Linked DNA regions of Homo sapiens: regions 1 and 2 are each linked to region 3. Evidence: promoter capture Hi-C in 16 types of primary human blood cells and fetal thymus (Javierre and others, 2016). All regions are on one chromosome and are shown on one strand. The core of a region is centred on a gene start or on the middle of the fragment in contact, and the rest is flanking DNA. Distances in the headings are between cores, read along the strand shown.

Region 1 (3,633 bases), core at 1,056-3,555, 1.5 Mb before region 3:
ACATTTATGATGTCATACAGACTCCAAAATAATGCTGGAAGATAGTCAGGAATCATTAACTCCATTTCATAAATGACTCAGAAGAGGGAGTAACTTGCCCAGGTTTATAAAGGACTGGGGTGGGCTTTATAAGGACAGGGGTGGGCTTGAGTTCAGATCTTTTGCATCTAAATGAATATTGACATGGTGAATATTCAGAGTTCTTACTCCGTGCTAAGCCCCACATTGAGTGTTTATACATGTTATCCCATATATAGTCATATTGCACACTGACGAGTTAAGTTTAGAGAGATTAAGTCACTTGGCCTGGTGACCCACAGCTAGTGAAGGAAGAATTGAGACTGGAACCCAGGTCTCTGGCTCTAGAGCCTTTGCTTTTACGCACACACCAAGTATCTCCCAACTCCAGAGGTCCTGAGCTTCCCTCACAGGGTGCTGGTGATGCAGTGTCAGAAGAGAGGAAGATACCCTGCTCAGCCCCACTCAGCCAAGGTAACGCTAATGGTCAGTCAGTCCTCAGAGAGCTGGGATGCCCTTCTTCTCCCTGCTTACCTCTGCCTGGCCCACCTCTCCTCCCTCAGATCCAGGCCTCTGCAGAGGGCCGGCCCAATTCTGGGAGCATCCTGCCTGCTAAGGTTAGAGAGCTAGGCCTGAAGAAAAGGGATACATTTTTAGCAATAATAATTATGCAAACCTGGACGTAGAAATATAATCCAGAAGGAGGCTTCATTTGCCCACAAAAGAGCTCTACATTGAAGGAGAGGCTTGGAGAATCTTTGCATGTACAGTTTATATAAGCAAGCTTCATAATTATATCTTTTTCAATGAAATTAATTTAAAAATATCACTTGGGTATAAAAGAGACTGGGAAAAAAAATCTGTATAAAAAGCAAATGGGGTTCTTAAACAAGCCCATAAAATCTCTTCATTGACACAGAGATGGGGGTCGGCAAGGAGACTTTTCGAAAGATTCTCTAGGTATGAAATACTGGTTAGGAAATGCCCTCTACCTGGTTGGAGGTAGGAAGATGGGGGTTATCAGGACACAGGCCTTGCTAAGTCCTCAGGGTCTCGCTGTCTAAAAGTTTCCACACTCAAGGGCTCCAGGCCCTCCCTGTACACCACAGGATAAGTGCTGAGATTCTGGAGTCAGAGAAAGCCAGGGCTGGATTTAAGCTGTGTGCTTTCTTCTCCTACTGAAAATACGGAGAAGTCCATTCTCACCCCTGCAGTCAGAGTGATCCTTCTGAATCAGATCAAAGTACTGATCTGCTCAAAATCCTGCGATGGCTCCCCACTTCCCTTAATGGCAGCCTACGTCCTTGGAAGCACTGGCCTGAGGTCCTTTTAAGTTCTTAGTAGAAACCCAAGCCACCTAAGGTGAAAACTGTTAAGCTCCAATCACCCTGACTCATATGCTAACCTTGTTCACTTTTCTCTAGCCACATTGTCCTCCTGGCTACTTGTCCTCCAACAATGCCAGACGCAGCTCCTACTTGATGGCCCTTGTATTGCTTCTTCCTTGGCCTAACCAATGGGTTCACCTCCTTTATGTCTCTGCCTACATATAAACTTCTTAATGAGACTCACCCTGTGAAATTATTACTATCTCTGTCTGCACCCCTTTTCCTTCCCTGATTTTTTTCCCTGATCACCTTCTTGGTATACAATTAATTGATTTGTAAATTTTATTTTTTTTGGATGCCACTTTCCCCTCTAGTTCAATCTACATAAAACTAGAAGTGTTTGTTTGTTTCAGTCATTAATAGATTCCAAGGACCTAGCATGGTGCTTAACATATAGTACGTGCTTAATAACTTATGGCTGAATTAATGAATGAATGTTTAATGCTCACAAGCCACTTCTTCTCCAAGCCTCCGTTTTCTCTTCTCTAAATGGCAGTAAAAATAATACTGCAATGAACGGCTGCTGCTTTTGTCTACCTGGTATTCCTTCTACATTTGATAAGAGAGCTCCTCTTTCCTAAACCCATTTCATGTGGTTCTGATAGCAGCAATCACAGAGTTGCTATGGTCACCCCGGCTGCCCTGGCAATCAGGGAACACCACCATTTCCCTGGTCATGGTGGTGCACAAAAAGGCATGCGTTTCAAGCAGGGCCAATCCATGAGACTAGGTCAATGCTCTCTGGATGAAGGGCCATTTGGAGGAGCCTGTGCTGGCAGGGCCATGTGGGCTGTGGCTGTCAGCAGTGATTTTACAAACTCTTGAAGGCAGCTTGCTCGGGATGTAGCCAAGCAGCATCAGGCAAAGCAGAGAGTTGCCTCGAGAAAGAACAGAGCTCGTGCTCTTTTTGAAAATAGGGTCTAGCTGGAAGAGAGCTGAGGCAAACAGACCCTGGGAATGGACAGGACTAATATGGAGCGACAAACTGCGGAGCCAAAAGCAGAAATTCCTCTGCCTAGGATGGCATCCTTCAATTTTTGCTTGGCAAATTCCTGCTCATCCTTCAGAACCTCATTTGAGGACTTCTTGCTCCCCTAGATCTCATGGGCTGAATTGATCACGATTCCCTTTGTGCCCCATTGTACCAGGTTTCAACTGTATCAAATTCATCACTACAAATTGTAGTCATCCATTGTGTTCATTTGCTAGAAATGCCATAACAAAATAGCACAGTCTGGGGGGCTTAATAGAAATGTATTTTCTCATGGTTCCAGAGGCTGGAAGTCCAAGATCAAGGTGTCGACAGTGACGGTTCCTTCCGAGGCTTCTCTCCACGGCTTCACCCTGTCTTCACTTGGCCTTTCCTCTTTGTGTGCATCCCTGGTATCTCTGTGTGTGTCTAAATGTCCTTTTCTTAGAAAGACATGAGTCAGATTACATGAGGGCCCACCCTAATGGCTTCATTTTAACTTATTTACCTCTTTAAAGGCTTTATTTCCAAATGCAGTCACATTCTAAGGTGAGGGTTAGGGATTCAACATATGAATTTAGAGGGACAAAATTCATCCCACAAAATCTACTTTCCTACTTCCTCCACCAAGTTACTTGAGGTCAGATGGAAGCTGCTTAATAAATGTTTGATTAAGAAAGGATTAACAAGATGAGTGAATGAAGAGAAATCATTGTGCTGCCTCAGGCCTAGATAGATCCTTCCTTTGGCACCAGTGGTCACTTTCTAGTCTCTCCTCAGACTGGTCTGGGAAAATTAAGTCTTCCAGAGAAGGCTGAGGTTATTGGAGTTTCTTCTGCCCTGTTTCAGGGTGGGCCAGGTGCCAAGGGGATGCCTACGTGCCAAAGGCCAAGAATCAGTTTTGTTATTTTAATCCCATTTAAAATCTTTCTAGCCTCTACTCTCTTACTGACTTCCCACATCTGGTAAATTTCCTGAGCTGTCAATTCTTCTCCTAGAGTAGCTATCACTTCTCTCAATTTTTGTGAGGCTGGCAGAAACCCTGACTAGCTCTTTCTTAGATCAGAGTACCAATCTCCTAACTAGCTGGTCTGTCACCACCGTCCCCACTTTAATATACCCTATCCTTGTGATTGTAATCTATCTGAAATCAGTGCCAACTGTGCCATTCATATGCTAAGAAAGCTCTGATCTGCCCTACTGTCTAAAAGTCTAGGTCCCCTTTACATTCCTCCACATGCCCTTCAGACCTTTTGC
Region 2 (3,802 bases), core at 299-2,798, 1.5 Mb before region 3:
ATGAATTTCTATTGTTTACAAGCCACCTACTTTATGGTAATTTGTGACAGCAATCTGAATAGAGTCAGATGTTGTTAGATATTCACATATTCCCACTTTCTCTGTTTTTATTCCATCCTATGGCTCAGACCTTCAATCTGGCATCAGTTTTCTTCTGCCTGAAATTTTTTTTTTCAGAATTTCTTTTAGTGAGAGTCAGCTGCTAAGAAATATATAGTTTAATTTACCTGAAAATGTTTTAGTTTTGCCCCCATTCCTGAGAGATGTGTTTTCTGGATAGAGAATTTGAGGACAGCAGTACCCCTCACAGCACCCATCACACACAAACACACAAAATAAAGATATCATTCCATTTCTTTGGATTCAATTGCTGCAGTTCAAAAGTCAGCTGTTCGTCTATCATTGCCTTAAAGACAACGCTTCCCTTCAGTGCCCTGCCATTACCACCACCAACACCACCAAGCTTCAGCTTTTTATCTCTGGGGTGTTCACCAGTTTTCCTATAATGTGTTTAACTTGGCTTTTCTTTAATTTTTTTCTGTTTCTGATTCATTGAATTCCTTGGGTCTCTAAATTAATGTCTTTTGCCATTTCTGGAAATTTCTAAACTGTTATATCTTCAGATATTTCTTTTTAAACATGTTATCTATGCCCTCCTTCTGGGAGTCTGAAAATATGCTAAGACCATTTCACTTAATGTTTTATGTCTCATAACTTCTCTATCACATTATAGGTCTCTTTGTTTATGTTATAATCTGGATGATTTATTCTGAATCTGTTTTACAATTTACCAATTATTTTTTAGCTGTCTCTAATCTATGGTTAAAACTGATCATTGAGTTTTTAATTTTAATCGTCTCTTTATTTGAAAAATTTCTAATTTTTGTCAAATCTGCTGTCATTTTTTGTGGATTTCCACTCCACAGATTTTTAAAGCTTTCCTTTTAATGTATTTAAACACAATATAGTTAATTATTTATTAAACTGTGTCTGACAATTCTAGTATCTTAGGTCTTTGCAAAACTTTGCCTGTTGCCTTTGTTTGTTTGTTTGCTGCTTCTTACTTATGGTTTATTGTCTCCTTGTTCTTTTTGGACTGTGAGCTGCTGCGTTTATTTGGAAAATTATTTCTGGGCCTTCTTCAAGGATAGAATGATAGTGCATTCCTCCAGAGAGTACTGATATTTGCCTCTGCAATTTGAATCTGCGCAGTTTGAAGATTTATTTTTTATTTTTTTATTTTTGTTTCCCCAAGACGGAGTCTTGCTCTGTCGCCCATGCTAGAGTGCAGTGGAATGATCTCAGCTCACTGCAACCTCTGCCTCTCGGGTTCAAGCAATTCTCCTGCCTCCGCCTCCCAAGTAGCTGGGATTACAGACACCTGCCACCATGCCTTCCTATTTTTTTGTATTTTTAGTAGAGATGGAGTTTCACCATGTTGGCCAGGCTGGTCTCGAACTCCTGACCTCCTGATCCACCCGCCTCGGCCTCCCAAAGTGCTGGGATTACAGGCATGAGCCACCGTGCCTGGTCTGAAGATTATTTTTAACAATTATTGTGAATTTGGACTCTCAGTATGTGTTAGGGATAATTTGTGGTGACAACTTCTCAGAGACTATTTTCTCAGTACCAAGGCAGATTTCTATGTGGCCCCTGCAGGAAAGGAGAGACACAGGTTTATTGTGGTGTATTAGGCAAAACAGATTTATTTTTGGTTGGATCCCAGCTTTACAGGCATATGTTGTTTAGCGGATTCTCCTCCTGGGAAAGCGTGGCCTTTGGTGTGTGGCTTCCACACTCTGTATTTTAATCTGATTTGCCCAATACTCTCAGGAAAATGTGGCCATGAGTGTCCCCTTACATCTCTGGTTTCCTGCCTTTACATAGATTTTGACCAGATAATTTCTTACTATATTATAAGCTCTTCTGTGTTTATTATATAAAAATATATTTTGGATAGCATTTCAGATATTTTCAGAAGGAGAACTTACTCAAAAAACCTAACCAGCCACACTACTTAAGCTGAAATTGTCTTCTTTCTTGACATCTTAGCTATGTTAGAGTAAGCTCAATATTGTGGCTCCAGTGACACGTGGGGTCTTGGAGGAAAGGATGGCTGTTTTACATAGATTTCAGGATTTCTAACAATCAGTATCAGAAAGAAGCTTATGTCATTCATTTGTGAGATAAGTTTTACTATTTATTATTATTATTATTTTTAGAGAGAGCCTCACTCTGTTGCCAGGCTGGAGTGCAGTGGTGTGATCTCAGCTCACTACAACCTCCGCCTCCTGGGTTCAAGCGATTCTCCTGCCTCAGCCTCCCGAGCAGCTGGGACTACAGGCGCACACCACCACGCCCAGCTAATTTTTGTATTTTTAGTAGAGACAGGGTTTCACCATGTTGGCCAGGATGGTCTCCATCTTTTGACCTCGTGATTGGCCCACCTTGGCCTCCCAAAGTGATGGGATTACATGCTTTATAATTTTTATGATAATAAAAACTACAAATTTATTTGTGAATTTATAAAATTAAATGAATGAGAAAATTATTAAACACCCAATCATTATTTTACTAGTGTTGTTTTGGTATTTTATAGACACATGTTTGAATATGTATGTGGGTTATATAAATACATATACACACATATGTGTATATAAATACACACATATATATACACAAATATGTTTATGATATTAGATTATATTAACTATGTGCCCTGCATCTATTTTTCTCCTGATATATACACATGATGCACTATTAATTGACTGTGACCATCAGTTGACCAATAATGCATTTTGTTAACTATAGTCACCATGCTGTACAATAGATCTGTAAACTTATTCTTCCTGTCTAACTGAAACTTGTACCCTCTGACCAATATCTCTGTTTTCCCAACCCACCCCTCCCCAGATTCTGCTAACCACCTTTCTACTCTCTACGTCTGTGAATTTGATTTTTTTTTTTTTTAGATTTCACATATAAGTGAGGTCATGTGGTATTTGTCTTTCTGTGTCTGATTGTTGTTCTATTTCAGATATTCAGAGGGCTCTTGATACATTCTGGCCTGTTAAAATGGATTCCACAACTAAATGACAATTATTTGTTATATGGGAATAATAATAAATGCCTCCTTCACACACAGATGTGAGGCTATAAAAATTAAATGCGACGAGCTAGATCAAATCCCAGGATCTGGTTCTTGCTAGGTACCAAAACCTGTGTCCCCATAGTATTGCTATTACTCCAATTTCTGTGAACGTAGCTATGCAATTGCAATCCAAAAAGTTCCAAGTGATAAGATTCCAGTGTCTAAATCACCTGCTTTTCCTGCCCCACCTTTTCCTACTCCTCCACCACCACCACCACCACCACCACCACCACTGGTCATTCTCATCCTCTCTAATCATTTACGCTATTAGTACAATTTTCTAAAGAATTAATTAGGAAATTATTTTACCTTAGCCTTAGCTTGAAGTTAAATAGCATTACTTGATTTATTTGGGATTCTTAATATGTAAAATATTGTATTGCAGAAGGCAAAGAATAATGGAGGAAACCAGACAAAAGGATTCTTTGTCCCAGCCCCACCACTAACCTGTGGGATGATTCTGGACCATTCTTCCCATCTTGTTCTGTGAACTGTGGGAAACTCATCACACTTGTCATTGTGGTTACTTGGGGTCGTTGTGAGAATCAGACTCGATCTTGAGAACGTGCTCTAAATGCACACAGACAGACAGGGTGTGCGTGTGTGAGGTGCAATCTACGGGAGCCAGAGTCTCAACTCCTGGGAACACAT
Region 3 (3,441 bases), core at 865-3,364:
ATGAAAGAAATGTGAGTAACTCAATGGGAGAAGGCCTCAACCTGCTTTAGCTGGCTCTGAAAATGGAAGAAAAAGGCCATAAGCCAAGGAACTCAGCAGCCTTCATGCGGTGGAAAGGGAAGGGAAATGCAGTCTCCCCTAGAGCCTCCCAAAAGGAACACAGCCCTGCCGACACCTTCATCTTAGCCCAGTGAGACCAGGGTCAGACTTCTGACCCACAGAACTCTCAGGTAATAAATGTGTGTTGTCTTAAGGCACTAAATTCACAGTAATTTGTTACAGTGGCCATAGAAAACTAATACCTGAGGCTTGACCATGGTGGCAGAAAATTCTGTGAACATCTGGTTCCTTCCTGACTGGTACTCCGCATCAATCATTAGTTGTTTTTGAATCTCACTCCCATTTACTAAATAGCAGCAATTTGATTCCCAAGAACAAAGAAAGAATCTGAATCTCCTAAAATGTTCCCATACTCATAATACCACTGAGTCCTTACAGTCCTGCTAGAAATAAAAATCCATAGCGAAGCTTAGCAATTTCTGGTTGCTAAAAGGAGATAATTTGGAACAGGGTGGAATCTCGCATTTATTAATGGGTTATCATTCATGATCAGGTTCGGACTCTAGGTAATGAAAGACCAGTAAAGCTTAGGGGGACATGGCCACCTGGTGCTGAATCTCTCCTTCCTCTTCCAGTCCCATCCCAGAGGGAGGCAGGTCAGGACTAGAGTAAGATTAACTTCCAGAAGAAAGGCTTTCCCTCAATTCCCGGCCTGGAGCAACCAGCCACCAGCTGAATCTAGCCCTGTGGACCCCGGTACCTCCTGCCTTAGCAGCAATGCTTTTGCCATTTCAAATCTGCCACTTCAAATACGGGGACTGAGTATTTGAGTCAGGAAAGAGTCCCTTGAGCTCCTTCTCAGCTTATCCAGAAAGATGCAGAAGGGGATAGACAATTGAAATCAGCCTGAGGCATGCAGCGTGGCTGGCCAAATGAGACTGCATACCCAGAAATGGCCTGGCACAGACTCTTTTTAGCAAGACTGAAGCTGCGCTTTTTGGAAATGAAGATACAATCTTATGTAAACCATATTAAGAGGTTGGTAGGCTGGGGCAGTGGAAAGAGACCTTGCTTGGGATTTCGGAGCCCTGAATTTTATTGTGGCCTCTGATACTGATTCACAGAGTCCCTTCAACTTGATATGCCTCAGTTTCCCTTCATGTGCTGTCAGGGGCTGTGTCAGACGACCTGCCCGCTTCGCTGCACTATGAGCTTTGCTCTGCTTCAGGAATCAATTGCTGACCAAAAAGAGAAATAGAATTGTTCGCCAAAGACCCAGAGTGTCTTGATCCTGGGGTATCCTACGGCTCCTCGGATCTCCTCCTGGTCTCACACCCGCATCCCTTACCTTCCAGTCTGAGGCAGCCTGAGGACTGTGGGAGGGGAGGAAAGATCACGCCCTGATATTGGATGGAGATGGAGAGATTCCAAGAGAACTAACAGCAGAGTCTCAGGAAGGGTTTGCTCACTGAATGGAGAGGTCAGGACTGGGACGGAGCTTAGCAGCAGCCGCTGGGCAGCAGCCCCTGCGCTCCCCAGCTGCCCTGTGCTCCTGGCCGAATCACAGGGGAGTGAGAGCTTCAGGAGACCCACATCTCTAGCCTGGACACATGAGTGATATTGGGCATCTCCCTCCCCTTCTCTGGACCTCAGTTTCCCCCACAGGATTCATCCGGGAGGGGCCTCTTTCCCCCGCACCACGGTCGGCCTGAGGCCGGGATGAAGCGCGCTTGGTGGATGCCCTGGGCTTCTCCTCGTTCGATGCTCACGCGTCCCTCCCGCCGCCCGCCTGTACCTGCACCGCGGGCGCGGCCAGGCTCGCTGGTCCCGGAAGCGGGCGCGCCGTCGGGAGCCGCAGGAGAGGGGCGGCGTCCAGGGCTGCCCCCGGGACCTCGGGTCTCCAGCCTCCGGAAGCCCGGGCGGGCCACGGGGTCGGGGGCGGCGGAGGGCAGCAGCAGCAGCGGCCAGAGCAGCAGGAGGAGTCCCGGGAGGCGGCGCGCGGGGGCCGGGCGCGGCATGGTGGGCTCCGTGGGCCTGGTGGTGTCCGTCGGGGGCCAGGAGCCCACGCGAGGCTCGGATTTAAAGGTCCCGCGGCCTCGGGCCCCGCCCCGCCCCGGGGCCTCGAGCGCCAGGCCGGCCCGGCGAACCCCGCCCAAGGCCAACAAGGAGCCTTGTCCGCGCATTCCAGCGGCAGAAACGGAATGTCTGGGCGAGGCGGCCAGCGGCGCGGTGGTCACCTCCCGCCCCTGCCCTAAGCCCCGAGCCGGCTGCAACTGGGTGGGCTCGGCTGCTGTCGCAACCTCCGTCCTCCCAGTAACACCGGGGCAGGGGGGGCAGCCATCCGCGGCTGCAGCCTGCCCGGCCCTCCACTCTCCCTCCCACCCCAGCGGGGCCTGCGCCCCAGGTACGGGATGGGGACCCCTGGGCTCTGCTTTCCCTTCTGCCACTGGTTTGCCCGACTGGGGCTGAAGATGAAACCCTGCTCCTAGCTCTACATTCCTTTCCTCAGCCAAGTAACCCAAGTTTTGCTGTGGGCTCTTGTTTAAAAAAAAAAAAAGAAAGAAAAGGCCTCACAGATTCTAGGGGCATGAATAGAAACGCTTTCATCCGAGCTTCAAATATCCACAAACATTTGAACTTATATTACCGGGAATAGAAAGTCAAACATACATTCCCCAGAGAGCCCCGTTAGCTGGAAGGACAGCCTGTACCAACACAGGCTTCAAAGGCTCTCCCGAGGCCCCATTTCCTCTCCGGAAGAGTTAGCATGGTACAGGGCTGGAGGCTGCCAGGGGACCCCCATGGAACTCACTGTCTGTGAGAAGGAGATTTGCATAAATGTGGTGTCTGTCTACGGGAATGTGGTGGATTTAGGAAAGAGATACTGACTGCCTGCGGAGACCAGGAAGACTTCTAAAACCAGGTGACATTTGAGCTGCGTCTTAAAACAATGGGCGCGAGTTCCAACAGAGCCTATCTGGTCGTCCTATTTCACTATTTTCCCTCTACAAGTGATCCTCCTCACACGATCCTAAACCTCACTTCTCATATTTGTACCCCATGCTGGTAGCAGCATTATACACAATAGCCAAGAGGCGGAAACAACCCAAGTGTCTCTCTTTGTGTGAATGGAAAAGCAAAATGCAGTATCTACGTACAATGGAATACTGTTCAGCCTTAAAAGGGAGGAAATTTTGGCAGATGCTACAAAATGGATGAACCTTGAGAGTATTATGTTAAGTGAAATAAGCTAGTCACAAAAAGACAAATACTGTATGATTCCATTTACATGGGGAATCTAGAGTAGTCAAATTCATAGAGACAGAAAGAATGGTGGTTAACAGGAGCTGAGGGGAAGTGGGGATGGGGAGTTGTATAATG

What was found. The method cuts DNA at HindIII sites, captures the fragments that hold promoters and counts their contacts. A CHiCAGO score of 5 or more calls a contact.
Region 1: a contact is called between a fragment that was not itself captured here and the fragment with the promoter of MATN3 in region 3, in 8 of 17 cell types (non-activated CD4 T cells, total CD8 T cells, naive B cells and 5 more). The highest score is 7.8, in non-activated CD4 T cells.
Region 2: a contact is called between a fragment that was not itself captured here and the fragment with the promoter of MATN3 in region 3, in 6 of 17 cell types (naive CD8 T cells, total CD4 T cells, fetal thymus and 3 more). The highest score is 6.9, in naive CD8 T cells.

Annotation. Positions count from the first base shown.
Region 1 is chr2:18,531,402-18,535,034 of GRCh38, forward strand. It overlaps LOC105373454 (a long non-coding RNA gene), which reads left to right. Exons shown (of 8, transcript XR_001739302.1): 8 at 1-3,633. Among named protein-coding and RNA genes, the nearest start is that of RDH14, 27 kb to the right of the region's middle. The HindIII fragment of the contact is 3,010 bases long and covers 801-3,633 here.
Region 2 is chr2:18,510,585-18,514,386 of GRCh38, forward strand. All of the region lies in intron 6 of LOC105373454 (a long non-coding RNA gene), which reads left to right. Among named protein-coding and RNA genes, the nearest start is that of RDH14, 48 kb to the right of the region's middle. The HindIII fragment of the contact is 1,229 bases long and covers 935-2,163 here.
Region 3 is chr2:20,010,554-20,013,994 of GRCh38, forward strand. MATN3 (matrilin 3) reads right to left here and starts at 2,115. Exons shown (of 8, transcript NM_002381.5): 1 at 1,856-2,115. The coding sequence starts at 2,078. RefSeq lists an enhancer at 1,219-1,831. The HindIII fragment of the contact is 3,809 bases long and covers 645-3,441 here.